Linked DNA regions of Homo sapiens: region 1 is linked to region 2. The links are contacts of gene promoters, found by promoter capture Hi-C in human tissues and cell types (Jung and others, 2019). All regions are on one chromosome and are shown on one strand. The core of a region is centred on a gene start or on the middle of the fragment in contact, and the rest is flanking DNA. Distances in the headings are between cores, read along the strand shown.

Evidence for each region. The method cuts DNA at HindIII sites, captures the fragments that hold promoters and counts their contacts. A contact is called where the count stands out against the background at its distance.
Region 1: a contact is called between the fragment with the promoter of NPBWR2 here and the fragment with the promoter of SAMD10 in region 2, in 1 of the 25 tissues and cell types used here (spleen).

What each region holds. Positions count from the first base shown.
Region 1 is chr20:64,105,912-64,108,898 of GRCh38, forward strand. It overlaps NPBWR2 (neuropeptides B and W receptor 2), which reads right to left and starts at 1,654. Exons shown (of 2, transcript NM_005286.4): 1 at 1,453-1,654; 2 at 1-1,011. The coding sequence starts at 920. RefSeq lists an enhancer at 1,202-1,702. The HindIII fragment of the contact is 24,186 bases long and covers 1-2,987 here.
Region 2 is chr20:63,978,170-63,980,891 of GRCh38, forward strand. SAMD10 (sterile alpha motif domain containing 10) reads right to left here and starts at 1,473. Exons shown (of 5, transcript NM_080621.5): 1 at 1,208-1,473. The coding sequence starts at 1,298. RefSeq lists enhancers at 627-921, 907-1,422, 2,018-2,077 and a silencer at 1,268-1,587. The HindIII fragment of the contact is 26,934 bases long and covers 1-2,722 here.

The DNA.
Region 1 (2,987 bases), core at 404-2,903, 130 kb after region 2:
GCGTAGCTGAGGCTGGTGATGACGTAGGACATACTGATGACCAGTGGGGTCTGGGGCAGGTCCGTGGTCAGGGCCACGACAGAGGCCAGGTGGAAGGGCGTCCAGCAGAGGAGGCACACGGCCAGCACGACGAGGACCAGGACGGTCACCTTCCGCCTGGCCTTGCCTAGAGCCTTGGCTCCAGAGCGGAGCCGCACGGCCCGCAGCCTGCGCAGGAGGTCTGTGTAGAGCACACAGATGGTGCACACGGGCAGCACGAAGCCCAGGACCAACGTGTAGACACGGCTGGCCTTGAACCAGACCTGCTCGGGCCACGGGAAGCTCAGCCCACAGCTTGGGACCTGCAGCTCGTTGCTGTAGACGCCAGCGAAAGAGAAGAAGGGCAGAACCAGGACCGTGACGCCCAGCCAGACACACAGGCTGGCGACCTTCGCCCCCCGGTAGGTGCGCCAGGGCATGTGGCGGGACCTCACGGTGGCCAGCACCACCAGGTATCGGTCCACGCTCATCACGGCTAGGAAGTAGATGCTGGAGAAGATGTTGTAGTGGTCGACGGCCAGCACCAGCTTGCAGAGCAGCTCCCCGAAGGGCCAGTACTGCAGCAGGTGCTCCGCGATGTTGACGGGCAGTACCAGCGTGAAGAGCCCGTCGGCGACGGCCAGGTTCAGGATGAACACGTTGGTCACCGTCTTCATCTTGGGCGCCCTTAGGATTACAAGGATGACGGCCGTGTTGCCAGTCAGCCCCACAGCACAGATCCCGGAGTACACGGCGGGCAGGAGCACATAGAGGAACGGCAGTGGCTCGGAGAAGGTGGCATTGTGGCCAGTGCCATTGTCCTGAGAGACGTTGGCACCCATCGTGGGGAGGGAGAAGGAGCCCCTGCTGTCAAGGGGCTCTGGGTGCCCAGCGGCCTGCATTGTAGCTGGGACCGTTGACGATTTGCGCCCTGGGCAGGTGGGAGGTGCCTTGGAGTTGGGTATCTGGTTGGGGGCCTCCTTGGGCTGGATTCTAGGAAAGAAAAACAACCAGAGACTTTGAGATCCGGCCGTCTGTTAGGGCACAGCCACTCCAGGTTCTCTGGCAGAGACTGCGGCCACTTTGCCAGGTCAAGGACATGGGGCCAGAGGGAGCCTGGTGGGGTGTGTGGGGGCCTCCTCCCGCCTCTTCCTGGTGAGACTTCAGCAGATCAGTTCCCTCCTCCCGCAGAGAGCAGCTGCTGGCCACCCTCCTGGGAAGAGATGTGGATCCGTCCCTGCCCCAGCAACCCGCAGATGCACGGGCTGCGTAGAATCAAGCGGTCCCTTTGGAAACACACCTCCCAAGCTCATCTCTGGCTCCCTTGAATCTGAAGGTCCTTCCCTCAGGGGTCTTGGAGTCTGCACCCTCCCTCACACCCTCCCGAGAGATGCTGCAGACCCTGCTGGTCCAGCTACTCTTCTCTCCACTGACCTGTCCAGTGCTTCGAGTCCAGAAGTTGGTAGCCTTGGTGTGTTCCTGGTTTTGGCCAGTACAGGCAGTCGCAGGGATGGAGGGCGAGGTGTGGTCCTCACTGACAGACCTCCAGCTGAGGTTTCAGGAGTTTCAAGACCTGCCCTGCTGGCTGCCTCAGCCCCGGCTGCGAGGTTCCCAGCCTGGTGTCAGTGCTGATGCTGGTGAGGGAGGGAGGCGGATCCCCCTTGCTGACGTGGAGCCCGGAAGGCAGGCCCCACCTTCCCCTGAGCTGCAGTAGCGCCTGCAGTCGGCTGTCCCAGGGTCTCCTCAGCATTCACTTACCCAGGCAGACTCCTCAGTGGGCGGCTGAGGCACGTGTGCGCCTGTGTGTCAGGAAGGGACTCCATGCAGGGGCCTCTGGGTGTGCCCAGGTCTTCGGGCAGAGGGCACTGAAGGCATCTGTGCCTCTGTCCGGGAGTCACTGTGGGCCTGGGCACCCTTATCTGTGAACATGGGTGTCTTGGTGGGTCTCCTGCCCCACCCTGTGTGTGTACATGGTGTGTTCCTGTGTGTGTGTGCCAGTTAGGACATGTACGTGTGTGGGCCTGTGTCTGCCTGTATGGGGGTCTCTGTGGGTGAGCTCTGCGTTGTATCTGAGTGGGTCTACATGTCCTTGGCTGAGTGTGGGCATCTGGGGGGTCTGTATGCCCTCATGTGGAAGCAGAACTTGTTGGCCATAGGCAACCCACCTTCTTTTTTTGTCTTTTGCTAAAAGAGGAACTCAGCCTAGGCAAGCTGTGAAAGGCTGCAGAGAAGACGTTCTCACGCTGACACGTAACTCTCCCGCCGTCCTGCAGAGGTGGTGAGCATCACACTCTGCTCTGGGTTGGTCTTTAAGTCCTTCCCTTCTCCCTGCTTTTCTTCCTTGCTGGACGCACCCTGGCTTATCCAACCCGTGTGTGTGCAGCTCGGCCGCATCTGGACCTGCTTTGCAGGCAACGCCACAGCTGACACGAGCAGTCGCCAGTCTCAGAGCCGCTCCTCAGCGGAGACGTGTTGGGTCAGAGGGTCTGTGTTTTCTTTCCTTTCTTCTTTTTTGAGACAGGGTCTTGCCCTGTCACCCAGGCTGGGGTGCAGTGGCACTATCATGGCTCACTGCAGCCCTGACCTCCCTGGGCTCAGGTGATCCTCCCACCTCAGCCTCTCAAGTAGCTGGGACTACAGGCATGTGCCACCATGCCTGGCTAATTTTTGTGTTTTTTTTTGTAGAGACGGGGTTTCACCATGTTGCCCAGGCTGGTCTCGATCTCCTGAGCTTCAGCCTCTACCTCAGCCTCCCAAAGTGCTCAGGTTATAGCCATGACCCACCGTGCCTGGTCACTGTGTGTTTTCAGTCTGGGGAGATGTGTCTGCCCATCGAGACTGTGCCCGCTGCCTGTGGGGTTGCAAGGATGTCACCGCACACTCATGGTCGGCCTTCTTTCCTGAGAGTTGCTCTGTCAAGTCTATTGGTTAGGACAGGAGCCTGGGCAGTCGCCCTGAGTACCCTGATG
Region 2 (2,722 bases), core at 223-2,722:
GCTCCCTCTTCCCACAGTAACTGCATTAAAGTGTTTCATCTGAGCTTTGTCATCATCTCTGGGGGCACTGCTGACCTGAGTCTGGGGAGGCAGGCGTCTTGATCCAGGTCTGGTTACAGAGGGGCACCCCACATTCATTGTCAATGAATGAATGAATGAAGGCTCTGTATGGTATCTGCAAGTGAACAGAGCCTGTGGGGAGACAGAAGGTGGGCACAGGCCTGCCCCTGTCTTTACAGCACCCTAGCACCCAGGCCTTCAGCAGGGCAGGTGAGGTTCCCACGCTAGGGCCCTCATCCCATCCACCCTAGAGTGAGAGACCCTCCCGGCCTCAGACTCAGCCACCCACTCCACACCCAGGGCAGGGGTTGGGGATGTGTCTAGGAGGTCTAAGTATCGGTGAAAACCACATCCTACTTCCCCGTCCTCCCACGCCTGTAAGACTTAGGAGACATAACACCTTCCGCCCCCATTCTTGCAACTTTCAGGAACCGGACCCCTGGGTGACTCCAAATTTGAGGTCTGGGGTCAGCAGAGGGTGTGCTCAGTGGGCCACCGCCCCGAGGTGGCCCCTAGTGCTGTGGGAAAAGGCTTATTCTAAGCCCGCGCCTTCCAGCGGACAGGCGCCGTGGTCGCCGGGCTTTGCAGGGCCTCGAGCGGCGGGGCTGGTGCAGAAGCGCGCGGCAGTCCGGGGAAACCCGTCGGACTCCTCAGCCCGCACGGCACCTGCCCCGGCCAAGCAGGCTCCGCCCATTTCCTGCCTGCACTCCCGGAGGGAGTTCCGTCCGTCCCGCGGTCTGTCGGTCCGGTCCCTCCCGCCCCAACGTCAGGATTCCAGAAGGAAATGGGGCGGGGGCACCGAGGCGGGATGTGACCTCGGCCCCCTTTCGGCCCCACTGCAAAAGCGGGGGAGGGTTTTCCCCGTGCGCAGGAAAAGGTGACCCGAGCGTAGTGCCAGCCTGGACACAGGCGCCCCGGCTTGACACCCCCTCACCCCAAGCCAAGGGCGCGCTGACCCCCAAGGCCTGAGGCTGGCTGCCCCCTAAAGCAGGACAAAGGCTACGGGACCCCGTTGAGCCGAGACATCCGCCGAATACCCCCAGCCACCGCCGCTCGAAGCCCGCCGGGTCCCGCCCCGCCCCCGTGCCTCTGGGTCCCTGAGACCCCCGCCCGAGAAATCCCCGCTCCCCAATCCAGCCCCGCTCACCGTCCACATCCCGGCGCTCCCCGAAGCCCGCGCGCACGGCCCCGGCGCGGCCACGCGGGGGGCTCAGCTTGGACCTCAGCTCGGTGAACATGGGGCCCGCGGGTGCCAGGCCCGCGCACACGCCCCTCGCCGAGTGCAGGGCGGCCGGTGTGGCCGGCGGGGAACGCGCGCCGCCGCCCCGCCCCGCCCCAGCCGGCCCCGCGCCCGAGCCGGTCCCCGCGGCCCGCGAGTGTGCGCGACGAGGCACCTGCCGCCGAGCCCTGTGTGCCGGGCGCGCTCCGGGAGCTCCGAGGTGTGTCGGCGGCGCGCGGGCCTGCGTGCACCAAGGCTGTCCGCCAGGGCGAGGGGCGTCCGTGCGCCCCTGGGCACGGCTCCGCGGAGGAGAGTCCCCGTGAACCTGCCGGGCGTCCTCTGAGGTCGGGCCCCTCTGTGCGTGGGGGTGGGCTGAGGGGCATCTCACAGGGGTCTTCTACCTACCGGGGCCAGGACAAGGGGCAGGTCAACGCCTCCCACACACTTTCCTCGGTCTCCTACGTCTTTACTCGCCTTCAAATAGGCACCCGCTTCCCCGGAGAAACCAGCTTGACTCTTGCTTACCGCCCACCCCACTGTGAACATCAGGGTGGTTCTCCCTTCCCTCTGCAGCCCCAGAACCTGGCTCAGTGCCCGGGGGAGAGGGGGCGGTACAGTGCTCTGTAACTGAAAGGGGCTTGGCTTGCCTGGAGATGGGGCAGAGGGGAACTCCAAGGAGGCTGTAGCAGGCCGGAGCGGTGTGTTTGCTCCAGGACTCCAGTGAGAAGTGCTGAGATGGGGCTGGGCTAGGGAACTGTGGTTGCCTGGTGCAGCAGCAGGCCAGGCTTGCAACCAGCTATTCGGCTTGCTCTGCCCAGGAGCCTGGGTGCTCTCCCTGGGTGTATGTAGGGGCTCTGGAGGATGTCTTACAGCAGGAGGACCAGAGATGCACACAGACATGTAGAAATGCATGCACAGAGTACAGTCATGCACTTGCACCCAAAACACGAGCACACGTGACCTCTGTGCACACACCCCACTAATCACACACACAGAATTCACCCACATGCTTGACAGCCATGTTCATGTACTGACGTGTTCCCGACAGCTCAGCTGCGGTTATTTATTTCGTCAATTAGCTCTCCAGGAGCTAAGGATGTGGCCCTCACCAGAATGTCCAAGGCATGTTGGCGGGCGTGGGTGGGGTCTCTAGTCCCACTGGAGGGACAGATGCCTGAATGGGGGTTCAAGAATATGAGTGCTAAAAGCGTAGGGCAGCAGTGTGCGCACAGGACGCACACAGACAGGTGTGCCCATAACCAGTACACACAAGCTCTACACAACTGGACAGGGTACAGCTCTGCTCGGACAGGGCGCACCAGGGGCGAGGGCGGGCAGCTGGGCTGGTTCAGAGGGAGGGGGCCATGGGTTCAGAGGGAGGGGACCATGGGTCCCACTCTCACAGACAGGTCTCCGGACTGCATCAGAGCACTCGGGAAGCAG